Linked DNA regions of Homo sapiens: regions 1, 2, 4 and 5 are each linked to region 3. The links are contacts of gene promoters, found by promoter capture Hi-C in human tissues and cell types (Jung and others, 2019). All regions are on one chromosome and are shown on one strand. The core of a region is centred on a gene start or on the middle of the fragment in contact, and the rest is flanking DNA. Distances in the headings are between cores, read along the strand shown.

Region 1 (2,700 bases), core at 20-2,519, 290 kb before region 3:
AGCTGATTAATAATTGTAGAAAATTAACAGTGCAAAACAGGAAGAAATCAACTTTTCATTTGTTTTTGATTATTCTAATGCTTGACAGAATTAGAACAATAATGCCTCATTAATCCTTAGGTCACTTATTTGGTATTTCCAACTTTCCCAAACACAACTGAGAACACAATAAGTAATCCAGAAAGGCCTCTAAGTGGAAATAGATGTGACTTATGTACCTTGCTCTTGGAAGAACCCCTAAGGCCCTTTGCTGAGGAATCTTCTTACAAGTTTCTAACCAATACAGTGTTTTGGTTTCTCAGCCCACAGTAGAGCTTCAAATTAGAAGAAGGGGTACTATAAAGGCATCAATTAACAATAAGATTAAGGTAAGAAACAAGAACAAAACTTTATATAGAAAACAAAATCTATAAATAAAATTTATCTAAGAATAATTTTTTTTAAATAGCAGTTTGGGGTCATTTTCTATGATAGAGAAAAAGAGTGCATGCTCACCTAAGTGCTCAGTACCTTAATAAATTAAAACTTCTTTAGCCAGCATTTATTGTTTATTGAGCACTTACTATTTGCCTTGCATCATCTGTATGGTAAGCACTCTGCATATGTCATCATTTGATCCTCAAGACTGCCCTAAAATGTGGATATTAGGTTTACCCTTATTTTACAGACAAGGAAACAGACTCAGGGAAGTTAACTTATCTAAAATCACACAGCTGGTACGTAGTAGTGCCAGGATTTACACATACATAGTCTGGTTCTAAAACCTCTGCTCTTAACCACTCTACTATCCTTACCACTATCCTTATCTGAGATATCCAAAAAAATAGATTCATACTCCAAACATTTTGGCAGATTCATACTCCAAACATTTTGGCTAAGACCATACAGATAAAAATACTATGCTTAAAAATATTTTCATTAAAATAGTTGAAATTTAGGAAAAACATTTGTGTTGAAAGAGGTAAATCTGGAAAACTCCAAAGTGCAAAACTCATAAGAGGAGTTAATTATATTAGTAATATTAAATTCTTACTTAATAAATTTTTGTTTTTAGTTCTATGCATGAAATTAAAGAATTCCCAAAGTGACATAGTCAATGGTAGAGGTAGGAATAGACCTATTTCTATGTTAAAAACTTGATTGTAAGATGATGTGATACTGTTTAAATGTGAGTTTCTGCAAAGCATTGAATCTAGCACAGTGCCTGAGTGCCTAATACATAACAGGCACAATAAATGTTCATTTTCATCCCCTGAAAATTAAAGATACATACATTTCCTGTGAAATTAAAGAGAAAGTTATAAAGGTGTCAAAATTTTTAGCAATCTCTATATCCTATTTAATTAGTTTTTACCATTATAGAGAATGGTAACACTTGATATGCTACTTATTCATTTTTTTAAACAAATGTTTGTTTAAAGATTCCTAGTTAACACCAAGACACTGTGTTAAGCTGCAGGTGAAAAATGCAGTGAGAAAGCAGATACAGTCCCTGCCCTCATGGAGCTTACCATCTCACTGGGAAAACTATTAATAAGTAGACAAATAAAAAAATATAAAGTTAGTGTCTTTATAGATAGCTAAGTCAATTATTTATGAAGAAAAAATATTCCTCTTTATTTTTTATTATTATTTTTTTTGAGACAGAGTTTCGCTCTGTCACCCAGGCTAGAGTGCAGTGGTGGGATCTCGGCTCACTGCAAACTCTGCCTCCTGGGTTCACGCCATTCTCCTGCCTCAGCCTCCCAAGTAGCTGGGACTATAGGCGCCGGCCACCGCGCCTGGCTAATTTTTTGTATTTTTAGTAGAGACGGGGTTTCACCGTGTTAGCCAGGATGGTCTCGATCTCCTGACTTCGTGATCCACCCGCCTTGGCCTCCCAGATATTCCTCTTTAACATTCTTTGTAATGACAGTTATTTTAGGCTTCTCGAATTTTGTCTTCATTAGAAAATGTGAAAATATTTCAGATATTTTGTCTTCCACTGTCAGCTAGAGTAGTATCCTAGACTTGCCATTATAAAAGGATACACAGTCGGGCCCATCCACCCATAATTTTAGTGATGAGGGGCAGTAACCATGCTGCATATTGTGTTTAGGTCATGACTTTGTGAAAACTACAAAGAGTGCTAGAAGAATATAGAAGCATGCTGCATATTGTGTTTAGGTCATGACTTTGTGAAAACTACAAAGAGTGCTAGAAGAATATAGAAACCTGGCCAGGTACACAGCAAAAAATGAAAACCAAGGTTACAGGCTAACCCATGCATAAAAATGAGAGCCTGTTGCTACCTAATTACAATTCCTTCTCCTTTTCCTTTGTAAATGCCCACAATTTGAAGGCAGAGAGAGACACCCACAAGAGCACAGCCCCACCATCGGGAACAAAAACTTGCTAACAAGTAATAACATTTAGATTTCTGAACTAAAAGCATAGTTTTTACCATATGGAAGGAAAAAAATGTAGTAGGAAACACTGACCACAATACTTAGTACAAGAGCCAGGCAACTACAAAGCTCAAGATCTGATTGTTTTCAGCGTCCAAATATACAGTGGATTTTAATGTATTTATAAACTTACTTTGTTAGTATAATGAAGAATCCCTGCATACCTACATTATTTTTTAAAGTGGATTGGGGAAAGTGATCATTCTGTAAGCAGGATATAGTGACTCCTTCTGGAAGAAAAAGAAAAAATAAA
Region 2 (2,799 bases), core at 172-2,671, 450 kb before region 3:
TTTTTTTTTTTTAGGTGGAGTCTTGTTCTGTTGCCCAGGCTGGAGTGCAGTGGCATGATCTTGGCTCACTGCAACCTCTACCCACCCAGGTTCAAGCAATTCTCCTGCCTCAGCCTCCCAAGTAGCTGAGATTACAGGTGCCTGCCACCATGCCTGGCTAATTTTTGTATTCTTAGTGGAGACAGGGTTTTACCATGTTGGCCAGGCTGTTCTCACACTCCTGACCTCAAGTGATCCGGACAGGGCAAGTATTTTTATTTCGAATTCATATAATTGGAAACCAAGGCTCGGAGGTCAGGCGACTTGCCCATGCTCACACAACTAAACGGAGAGGTTGGAATCTGAGCCTAGCTCTTTTGACTCCAGATGCCAAGCTCTGCCTACTATGCCATTATTCAGAAGTGGAGACAAAGTAGCTGACTTGATGCAAATGTGTTATCCTGAGACATGACCTCTTTGTGCTGCTGATTGTGTTTCTCACCTGAAGTAGTGTTAAGAAGCTTTCTGAAAGAGGATAAGCTATAATGATGAATTCAGTTCTCCCTTCAGTCCTTTTTTTTCCCCCAGCCACCTAACAGCATCTCTAACCCTGGCCAAATACTACACAAGCACGGGCTGTTAGCAATAATTGCCAGCACCTGTCACAGTGCCTGGCATTTAGTAGGCACTCAACACATGTTTGTTGAGCCAAATAGAATTACCTAGCATTAGCAAAAGCTCTCAGTCTGATTACCAAGGCACACTGGTAAAGAAGCGTTCTGGGTCTTCGTGACTTCTCTCTCTAGTCCTGCAGAAACATTGAAATTACAGGTCCTCCAGACAAGAATTAGTGACACCATCTTTTTAACTCGAAGGACAGATTTTCAAAACAAATTCTATTGTCTCTGTCTCTCTGTGTCCTGAGCAGGGCTCAAGCCAACAGCTGCAAAAGCCTGAAGTTGATGAGTGTGGAATTTACATGCTTACACTGGAAAACAGGCTCTGCTGCATTTTCTTTGACTGGAAGCAGGAAGTGTGGGAAAAGTCAAGCGCATTGACTGAATCCAGTTTGGAGCCAGGGGTCAGCAGAAGGAGATTGTTGGGTGGCAGTAACTGTGGACTGCCTGTTAACATCCGCTAATGTTTGGGGTTCTCTCTGAGATTTTTGATGGGAAAAACCTGAAGTTAACCAGGCAGGGGATCTCAGTGCATCAAACGGACACAGGGCTGAATGGGAAATGCCTAGTTTTCTTTGCTCCCTTCCCCAAGAGGGCAGAAATGAAGGAAAGTTCTGAGGAGAGTTGAATTATTATGCTGCAAGAAGTTTTCTGAAGATCTGCGTTATGAAGATGGATCCCATTAGTAAATTTGACAGCTATTCCACTCCTCCTTGCATTTTAGCATCTCAAGCCAAAATATAAATGAAAGGAATACACTATATCTCAAAGGAAGCTATCAATCCTTACCCTCCCTGAGTGGGCACAATTTGGGGGTTCTTCTACTTAGGTTGGGCTGGTTTTGCTGCTTTACCCACATACTCTCATCCAACACTCTTTGTGTCTGGTGAAGTCTGTGAGCCATCAGACAGAGAAGTCTATAATTTTATCTTCCTTTGTGCGCATCAGACCCTACGCTGCAGAGTGAGGGAAGCCTATGTGCAACAAGACACAATGTGGCCTTTGATCATATGAAGATTGGAGAGGCTTGGTTCATCCTTGCCCAGCTTCTTTGGAAATCAGCACAATGACATTTTCCCTTCTATATAGTGATCTGGGTAGGCAGGGATAATACAATATAATATAGTATAGTATAATATAGTATAATATAAATGACTTTTTTCCTTCTATATAATGATCTGGGCAGGCAGGGATTCAAGTCTTCTGATATGGGTGGGAGAAAGCCCTCCCTTTGTCCTTACCCTGCTCAACTTGTTTTGGCCAGGAAATCTAGCCTTGGGATTTTCTAAGAGTTAGATCAGAAAGGAAGAGAGTACTAGGCTGGGAGTAGTGGCTTACGTCTGAGACATACTAGGCAGGAAGTGGTGGCTTATGCCTGTAATCCAAGCACTTTGGGAAGCTGAGACGGGAGGATCACTTGAGCCCAGGAGTTTGAGACCAACCTGGGTAGCATAGTGAAACCCTGACTCATTTATTTAACTTAAAAAAAAATTAAAATAAGAGAGTACCAGCTTCAGGGTATATCTATTAGATATGTCAGTTTCCAGGGGTTGTTTGCAGGGATGTATAACCCCATTCCTATTCCCTTTAATTTAGCTGGTTTTTCGTCTCATAGCATTGCTGGGGGCAGGTAGGTTTCTTTCCCTTCCTACTATTCCACCCACTCAGATCTTCTACTCCAAGCTATTTGTAAGCTCATTCATTCATCCAACACATATGGGACACCAATAGCGTGCAGAGCACCACATAGGCATGGGAGAGAACTGACCACTTCTTCCTTGGCACCCCAGTGTTCCCTATGCAGACTTCTGTCACAAACCTAACAGCATTTTATTGCATTTATTTGATATGTCTTCAGATATCTCCCTTTAAAAGACAATACACAGCTGAGGGAAGGAATTGTACTAGTATTTTTTTTTTTTTTTTGAGACGGCGTCTGGCTCTGTCACCCAGGCTGGAGTGCAATGGCGTGATGTCAGCTCACTGCAATCTCCACCCCCCGGGTTCGAGCGGTTCTCCTGCCTCGGCCTCCTAAGTAGCTGGGACTACAGGCGCCCGCCAGCATGCCCAGCTAACTTTTTTTAAAAATATTTTTAATAGAGACGGGGTTTCACCATGTTGGCCTGGATGGTCTCGATCTCCT
Region 3 (2,709 bases), core at 35-2,534:
GGAGGGCGGATCACCCGAGGTCGGGAGTTTGAGACCAGCCTGAACAACATGGAGAAACCCCATCTCAACTAAAAATACAAAAATTAGCCGGGCGTGGTGGCGCATGCCTGTAATCCCAGCTACTCGGGAGGCTGAGACAGGAGAATCGCTTGAACCCAGGAAACGGAGGTTGTGGTGGGCCGATATCGCGCCACTGCACTCCAGCCTGGGCAACAAGAGCAAAACTCCGTCTCAAAAAAAGAAAAAAAAGAAAGAAAAGAAAAGGAAAGAAAAAAAGGAGAGGGATGGTGGGGGCCCTACTACGCAGGACTATTCCGTCCAGAATTTGCATAGGCAGGTTTTATTTTCATTCATATGACCTTCTGAGCCAAAGCAGAAGGATATGGCCACGTTCTCTAGCCAGACTGCCCAGTGCAGAGGAAGTAAATCTGTTTCTGGTCTCCACTTTTGAGCTTCCATTAATGTCACAAACCAAGACATACCGCCTCTCCTCTCCTGCGTTGTGACCCATCTACCAACTTCATTCTACAGGGGGAGAGCGAGCTATACGTACACACACGAACGTGCGCACACACACACACTCACACTCCCTCTCTCTGGTCAGAGTAAACACAATTGCGACCCAGAATTCCTGCTTACGCTACCCTCCCGTTCTCACGCAATTTATTACTAAAACCTCCCAGGAGCCAATTAAGTTCGAGGAACCGGACAAAGTCCCTTAAAAATCAAGTAGGTGCAGGGCCCATAGCCTGAGGCTGGTCCCACCCTGCCCGGATACCCGAGTCCGGCTGAGACCAAGTCGCCATGCCCACTCTCGGCGCCGGAGCTTCTAGCCTCCAGGGGCGGCCAGCGAACAAGTGCTACTTCCCTGGCCTTGACCCACCCTTACAGCAAACCCCACCCCGCCCTCCGTCCCGATGGCCCCACCCCACTCCCAAGTCCAGGCCTCACACCACGCCTTCTCGTGCCCTCAACCCTGCCCAGTCCATCCCACCCCGGAGCCAGCTTTCCTCTCGGCCCCGCGCGGGGCCCCTCCCTGTCAGGCCCAGGGCCGGGCTCTGGCGGGAACCCCGCTCGGCCCCCGCCTCCTGCACCTCAGCACCATCCCGTCGCCCCATAAGCCTCGGCCCCGCGGCGCTGCAACCCTCCCTTCTGGGAAAGGAATGTGCCCGATACCCACTGCTTAGCTCGGCGTCCGCCGCTGCCTCCACAGCAGGCCCTAAGCCCGAGTCCCGGCCTCGCCGCCGCCACCGCCGGCCGGCCTAGAGCTCGGAGCCTCCGCTTACCTCCCCGCCCCCTCCTGCTACCGCACTCGGAAACCCGCCCGCCGCAAACACCCTAGGAACAGTTTCTCCAATCAACGAGCCGAGGCCGGGGCCGTCGACGGATGTCCCTCTGATTGGCAGCAGAGAGGGCCCAATGGCTGAGTGTACCTCCTCATCCCCGGACCTGATTTCCCAAGACTGACATAATTCCCGGCCCAATGAGTACCTAGGCCCGCCCCGCGGTATGGACCCACCAATGAGGAGGGCGAAGGCCCTAGTGTCTGGCATTCTGGGCCCCTCGGCCGCGCCTTCGCGGCGGGCGATGTTAGTGGGCTTGGGCGTTGGGTGAAGTATCCAGGTTGGGCGCTTCCAGCGCTTTCTGTGGCGGGGGAATGAAGGCCTAGGTCAGGGAATAGGAAGGTGTATCGCCGCCAGAGTGCGGAACACCCTCGCCTTGAGGGTTCCCACAGTGACTTGCAAAAGTCTAGTGAGACCCGAGAATGCTGAGGCGGGACACGAAGCATGTGGTTCTTGTGGTTGCGACGCTCGTGCCGCCATCTTGGGTGCTGGCGGCGGAAACCGGTACCCCAACTTCCCCTCGGTGCGAACCTGGAGAAGCCACCCCAGCTGTGAGGGACGGTTGCGCCTCATGGCCCAGGCAAGGGTACCTTCGCTGGAGCAGTACCGCGGACGGATATCATGAGGGTGGTGGGACGTTGGCGGAACGTTGGCGGAACGTTGGCGGTGTGAGAGGTGTGGGGTAATGGCGATTTTTGTCATGGTAGAAACAGCCCAAAGGACCCCCCTCGTTTGGCCTCCCACGCAGCTTAGTCTTGCTTTTTTAGGGATGTTTCTCATTTTTTAATTTCTCCAGTCCCATCTGGTTATATTGCCAAAACATGTTTGTGACTCTCAAACGTTAGTTTACTCCCAGCATCACTTGGGGAGCTTGCTAAGCTACGAATTCCGAGGTCCCACTGGAGAGTCTGATTTAATGACCCTGGAGTGGCGGCCGGATAACCTGCCTGCTGGGGTGATTTTAACGCAGCTGATGCGAAGACCCCATTTAGGGAATCATTGGGTTGGCGTTTGCAATGCGTTCCTCCCAGCTATAGGACAAAGAGGTGTCAACTCAACTGTGTCTTCTTAGAAGAGCCCATTATTTATAGGTGAGTCATTAGTCCCTGTACAACTAAGGACAAGGCCAACTGATAACTCAGTAAATAATCGAGTCCATTTTGTGCTTGCGAGTTAGGGGCTTAATTTGGGGTGGTTTGCAGATTAAGTACTTTCACTGCATATAATAAACGTACACCAGCAAACCACTCATGGAATTCTTAAAAAAACTTCTGAGCTAGTTTACCAGTTTCAAAGACTAATTCAGAGAGCATGTTTTACCTATTCTAGGCTGGACTGGAACTCCTGGACTCAAGCGATCTTTCCA
Region 4 (2,876 bases), core at 12-2,511, 310 kb before region 3:
TTTTACCTTGCCCTTTTGATCAGACCTTAGCTGATTATGTGCTTCAGAAGCTGGTGGGATGGGTAGGAGGAGTAAGTGGTTTAGATAAGGTACAACAGGACAATTTAAGATTATGAAAAGATTAGAAATATGTAAGAAAGAGAACAACTAGCAGAAGAATCTTAAAAGCCCTGGAAAACTGGGTGGTGTTGGGATGGGAGTGAGAAAGAACAGAAATGCTGGCCCCAAACTTTCTGAGCATTTTTATCTGTGACAGGACCCTCTGTACAAGAAGATGATGGGATGAATTTTATTAACTCTGCATCTGCCTAAAAACACACTTGAGTTCTTCAAGATATTTGAACTAAACCAGGTCTGGTGCCTGGAAGGAAAATAGTCTTTAATTATAAAAGATCCATTATTTGTATATCCTTTTAGTAGCACACATTTTAAAAATAGCAGCCTTGGCCGGGTGCGGTGGCTCATGCCTATAATCCCAGTACTTTGGGAGGCTGAGGCAGGCAGGTGGATCACCTGAGGTCAGGAGTTCGAGACCAGCCTGACCAACATGGTGAAACCCTGTCTCTACTACATACAAAAAATTAGCTGGGAGTGGTGGTGCATGCCTGTAGTCCCAGCCACTTGGGAGGCTGAGGCAGGAGAGTCGCTTGAACCTGGGAGACGGAGGTTGCAGTGAGCCGAGATTGTGTCATTGCACTCAAGCCTGGGCAACACGAGCAAAACTCTGTCTCAAAAAGAAAAAAAAAAAAAAACCAAGGCAGCCTTATCAAGATATAATTCACATACCATAAAATTTACCCATTTAAAAGGTACAAGTTAGTGGTGTACAGTATAGTATAGTATAGTATAGTATAGTATAGTATAGTATAGTATAGTATAGTACAGTACAAGTTGTGCAACCATCACCACTATCTAATTTCAGAACGTTTCATCACCCCAATAAGAAACCCTGTATGGATTCTAGAGCCCATTATCTCCAGAGGTCGAGAGCCCATACTCTTCGTGACTGTTTTTCACTGTCTCATTGCAAGGTTGTTGAAGATTAGTAGTAATGTGTGTAAGCATCGAGCTTAGTACCTTGACATAGTGGGAAAAAAAAAGCCAGTAGTTTCTATTTATCATAATGGGACATTAATGGTAATTCTTTCTCTCACATTTCCACCTGCGTTTTTTTATTGGTCCACTGTCAACTTCCTGAATGATATTTATTTTAAAAAGGAAACAGGGAAAATAAAACATGATCCAAAGAATACATTACTTTAATGTAGAGGGGATATAAATGGAAGGGCACTTTTAATGAGCTTAAACATAATTGGAGAACATGAAAGAGGCTTTTTATTTTTACTTGACAATAAGACATAATATTGCTTTAATAATTCATGTCCTGCTTACTCAAAAAAAATTTCTACTTAATTTTTTACTTAAAGTTACAAAGAAAAGCCAGCGGAGTTTTTGCCATGGAATTTTTATAATTTCAGTAATCAATATCTAAAAGGTGATATCGATAAGGGAATATTAATTTTGCCCTTAGATTTGATGGCAATATCACTTAAAGTTATTGAGCAAACTGATTTCCTTCATTTTGCTTCAGTTTCCCCTTTTATAAAATGAGTTAGTGATAGTTTTAATAAAAAATTTGATTATAAGGTATAATGTTTATAATTCAAAATTTATTTGCTATAAAAAAATCTTCATGAATATTAGATTGAATTTCCCACCATAGACCCAGAATCTAAAACAAATGACATAATATTTAAATAAAAATCTAGGGAAGACCATGGGAATATTATATAGAATAATATCTTTTTTTTATCCAGTGGTCACTCACATTACATTTGTGGTAGTGGTAAACATGGGCCAGTGGAATCTCTTGCCAACTTAAAGATTCTTTGAGTATCTCTATGAGTGGTGTAAAAGGTTTCTGAGAAAATTATTCAGTATATTTCATTATGAAAAAATTCTACTTTGTGAAGCTTAAAAATCTCATTTTGAAATGGCAAGCCTATATTCACGTCAAAGTAAATCGATGCCTAATAATATAGCCTGGCAGGCCAGGCACAGTGGCTCATGCCTGTAGTCCCAGCACTTTGGGAGGCTGAGCAGGTAGATTGCTTGAGCCCAGGAGTTTGAGATCAATCTGGGCAACATGGTGAGACCCTGTGTCTACAAAAAAAACAAAATTAGCTGGGCATGGTGGCACAGGCCTGTAGTCCTAGCTGCTTGGGAGGCTGAGGTGGGAGGATCACTCAAGCCTGGCAGGTTGAGACTGCAGTGAGCCGAGATCGCGCCACTGCACTTCAGCATAGGAGACCGAGCGAGACCTTGTCCCAAACACACAAACAAAGAAATAAACAAATAAAAATATAGCCTGGCAAAAACAAATAGTGCTAAGTGAATAAGGAAATTATAAAGCCATGTTAACTGTAAATTAAGAGATTTAAGAGGTTTACCAACGAATGTATAAACTTTGTGCATTCTGAGTCAAGCAAACTATTAAAAAATGACATCTATGAGAGAATTAGAAATTTGAACACTGGTTATTTTATGTTATTAGGAAACTACTGGATTTTTTTAGGTGTAGCAGTGGTATTATGGTTAATTTTTTTAAAAACAGTTCTTTATTTCAGAGAGAGGTGTGCCATGATATTTAAATATATAATGTCTGACAAATAATATGGGAGAGGAGAAAGAAACAGGGTAAATATAGATGAGATGAGATCGGCCATAAGTTGACACTTGTTGAAGCTGAATGATGTATATATGGGAGTTTATTACACTGTTTTGTCTACTTTTATACATGTTTAAACTTCTCCATAATGTAAAGGTAAAAGAAAAAGGTTGAGATTGATTAAAAATGTAACATTTTTCTTTTATCT
Region 5 (2,791 bases), core at 44-2,543, 350 kb before region 3:
TTGAACTCCTGGGCTCAATGGATCCTACTGTCTCAGCCTCCCAAGTAGCTACAGGCGTGCACCACCATGTCCAGTTAATTAAAAACTTTTTTTTTTTTTTTTTGTAGAGACAGGGTCTTGATTTTTGCCCAGGCTTGTCTTGAACTCCTGGGCTCAAGCAGTTCTCCTACCTTGGCTTCCCAAAATGCTGAGATTACAGGTATTTATTTATTTTTTTAAACAGCTTCATTGAGATATAATTCACATACTATACAACTCACACATTTAAAGCATACAACTCAATGGCTTCTAGTATATTCACAGAATTGTGTAACTATCACCACAGTAAATTTTAGAACATTTTCATTACACCGAAAGAAAACCTGAACCTCTTAGCCTTCACTCTCCAATCCCTCTTCCTGACTTTCTTTATCTACTTTCTGTCTCTTTAGATCTGCCTATTCTATACATTTCATGTAAATGGAATCATACGATATGTGGTCCTTTGTGACTGGCTCCTTTCACTTAGCATAATGATTTTAAAGATTCATCCATGTTGTAGCACATATCAGCATTTCATTTCCTTTTATTGCTGAATAATATTCCATTGTATGCTACATTTTATCTATCCATTCATCAGTTAATGGATATTTGGGTTGTTTCCACTTTTTAGCTATTAAGAATAATGCTGCTATGCCAGGCATGGTGGCTCACGCCTGTAATCCCAGCAATTTGGGAAGCCAAGGCAGGCAGTTTGCTTGAGTCTAGGAGTTCAAGACCAGCCTGGGCGAAGTGATGAAACCCCATCTCTACTAAAAATACAAAAATTAACCCAGCATGGTGGCATGCACCTGTAATCCCAGCTACTTGGGGGGCTGAGGCACGAGAATCACTTGAATCCGGGAGGCAGAGGTTGCAGTGAGCTGAGATCGCACCACTGCCCTCCAGCCTGGGCAATAGAGCGAGACTCTGTCTCAAAAAAAAAAAAAATGCTGCTATGAATATTTGTGTAAAGTTTTTGTGTCAGCACCTGTTTTCATTTCTTTTGGGTATTTCCTAGTAATATAATTTCTGGATCCTATGATAATTCTCTGTTTAGCCTTTTGAGGAACTGCTAGATTATTTTTCTAAGTGGCTGCACTGTTTTACATTCCTACCAGCAATGTATAAGGTTTCCAATTTTTCTACATTTTCAACAACATTCATTGTTGTTCTTTTCGCCTGTAACCATTCTAGTGGGTGTGAAGTGGTATTTCATGATTTTGATTTGCATTTCCCTGATGGCTAGTGATATTGAACATCTTTTAATGTGCTTATTGGTCATTTGTGTATCTTCTTTAGAGATATGTCTATTCAGTTCCTTTTCTCATTTTTCAGTTGGGCTATTTGTCTTATTATTACTGAAATATAAGAGTTTTAATATATTCTACATACAAGTCTTTCATCAGCTATATGATTTGCAAAAGCTTTTCTCTCATTCTGTGGGTTATCCTTTTGCTTTCTTGTTGGCCTTCTTTGAAGCACAATAGCTTTTAAATTTGATGATGCCTTGTTTGTCTATTTTTGTATTTGGTTGCTTTTTTTTTCTTGGTGTCATATCTAAGAAACCATTACCTAATCCAAGGACCCAAAGATTTACACCTGTCTTTTTCTAAGAGTTTCATAGTTTTAGCTCTTATATTTAGGTCTTTGATCCATTTTTAGTTAATTTTTTTATATGGTGTGAGGTAGGAATCCAACTTCATTCTTTTGCATGTGTATACTCAGTTGTCTCAGCACCATTTGTTGAAAAAACAACTTTTTCAACATTTAATTGTCTTGACCCTCTTGCAAAAATTGACCATAAGTGTGAGGGTTTATTTCTGGATTCCCAATTCTATTCCTTTGAACTTTATCTCTGTCCTTATGCCAGTACCATATTTTCCTAATTGCTGTAGTTTTGTGGTAAGTTTTGAAGTCAGAAAGTGTGAGTCCTCCAAATTTGTCTTTCTTTTTCTTTCCTTTTTTTTTTCTTTTTTGAGACAGAGTCTTGCTCTGTTGCCTAGGTTGGAGTGCAGTGGCATGATCTCGGCTCACTGCAACCTCGGCCTCCCAGGTTCAAACAATTATTCTGCCTCAGCCTCCCAAGTGGCTGGGATTACAGGCACTAGCCACCACACTCAGCTAATTTTTGTATTTTTAGTAGAGACAGGGTTTCTCCGTGTTGACCAGTCTGGTCTTGAACTCCTGACCTCAGGTGATCCACCCGTCTCAGCCTCCCAAAGTGCTGGGATTACGAGTGTGAGCCAACACGCCCGGCCATTGTCTCTCTTTTTCAAAATTGTTTTGGCTATCTGGATTCCTTACATTTCCAAGTTAATTTTAGGATTAGCTTTTCAATTTCTACAAAAAAAGCCAGCTGGGATTTTGATAGGGGTTACATAAAAGCTTTAGATCAGTTTGGGGAGTATTGCCATTTTAACGATATTAAGTCTTCTGATCATGAACATAGAATATGTTCTATTTATTCGTAAGTGCTTAATTCTTAATTCTTTTACCTGCTTTATTTCTTTTCTTTTTTTTTAATTTTTATTTTTGAGATAAGGTCTTGCTCTGTCACCCAGCCTGGAGTGCAGTGATGTGATCTCAGCTCACTGCAGCCTCAACCTCCCTGGGCTCAAATGAGGCCACCTTAGCCTCCTGAGCAGCTGGGACCACAGATGTGCACCACCATGCCTGGCTAATTTTTGTATTTTTTGTAGAGGCGGGGTTTCATCATGTTGACCAACTCCTGGGCTCAAATGATCTGCCCGCCTTGGCCTCCCGAAGTGCT

Evidence for each region. Contacts are between HindIII fragments. The study calls those that stand out against the background at their distance.
Region 1: a fragment that was not itself captured here is called in contact with the fragment with the promoter of NFE2L1 in region 3 in 1 of the 25 tissues and cell types used here (mesendoderm cells).
Region 2: a fragment that was not itself captured here is called in contact with the fragment with the promoter of NFE2L1 in region 3 in 1 of the 25 tissues and cell types used here (bladder).
Region 4: a fragment that was not itself captured here is called in contact with the fragment with the promoter of NFE2L1 in region 3 in 1 of the 25 tissues and cell types used here (H1 embryonic stem cells).
Region 5: a fragment that was not itself captured here is called in contact with the fragment with the promoter of NFE2L1 in region 3 in 1 of the 25 tissues and cell types used here (mesenchymal stem cells).

Annotation. Positions count from the first base shown.
Region 1 is chr17:48,341,925-48,344,624 of GRCh38, reverse strand. The region is part of intron 4 of SKAP1 (src kinase associated phosphoprotein 1); the gene reads left to right. Among named protein-coding and RNA genes, the nearest start is that of SKAP1-AS2, 49 kb to the right of the region's middle. The HindIII fragment of the contact is 7,800 bases long and covers 1-2,700 here.
Region 2 is chr17:48,496,504-48,499,302 of GRCh38, reverse strand. No RefSeq gene overlaps it. Among named protein-coding and RNA genes, the nearest start is that of HOXB1, 33 kb to the left of the region's middle. The HindIII fragment of the contact is 6,789 bases long and covers 1-2,799 here.
Region 3 is chr17:48,046,934-48,049,642 of GRCh38, reverse strand. It overlaps NFE2L1 (NFE2 like bZIP transcription factor 1), which reads right to left and starts at 1,284. Exons shown (of 6, transcript NM_003204.3): 1 at 1,181-1,284. NFE2L1-DT (NFE2L1 divergent transcript) reads left to right here and starts at 1,590. Exons shown (of 2, transcript NR_170231.1): 1 at 1,590-2,018; 2 at 2,673-2,709. It also overlaps a transcript of COPZ2 not described here. RefSeq lists a silencer at 875-1,154 and enhancers at 705-1,306, 1,565-1,804, 1,307-1,908, 1,875-2,064, 1,909-2,512. The HindIII fragment of the contact is 14,336 bases long and covers 1-2,709 here.
Region 4 is chr17:48,359,078-48,361,953 of GRCh38, reverse strand. The region is part of intron 3 of SKAP1 (src kinase associated phosphoprotein 1); the gene reads left to right. Among named protein-coding and RNA genes, the nearest start is that of SKAP1-AS2, 66 kb to the right of the region's middle. The HindIII fragment of the contact is 4,001 bases long and covers 1-2,876 here.
Region 5 is chr17:48,400,512-48,403,302 of GRCh38, reverse strand. The region is part of intron 1 of SKAP1 (src kinase associated phosphoprotein 1); the gene reads left to right. Among named protein-coding and RNA genes, the nearest start is that of SKAP1, 28 kb to the left of the region's middle. The HindIII fragment of the contact is 6,433 bases long and covers 1-2,791 here.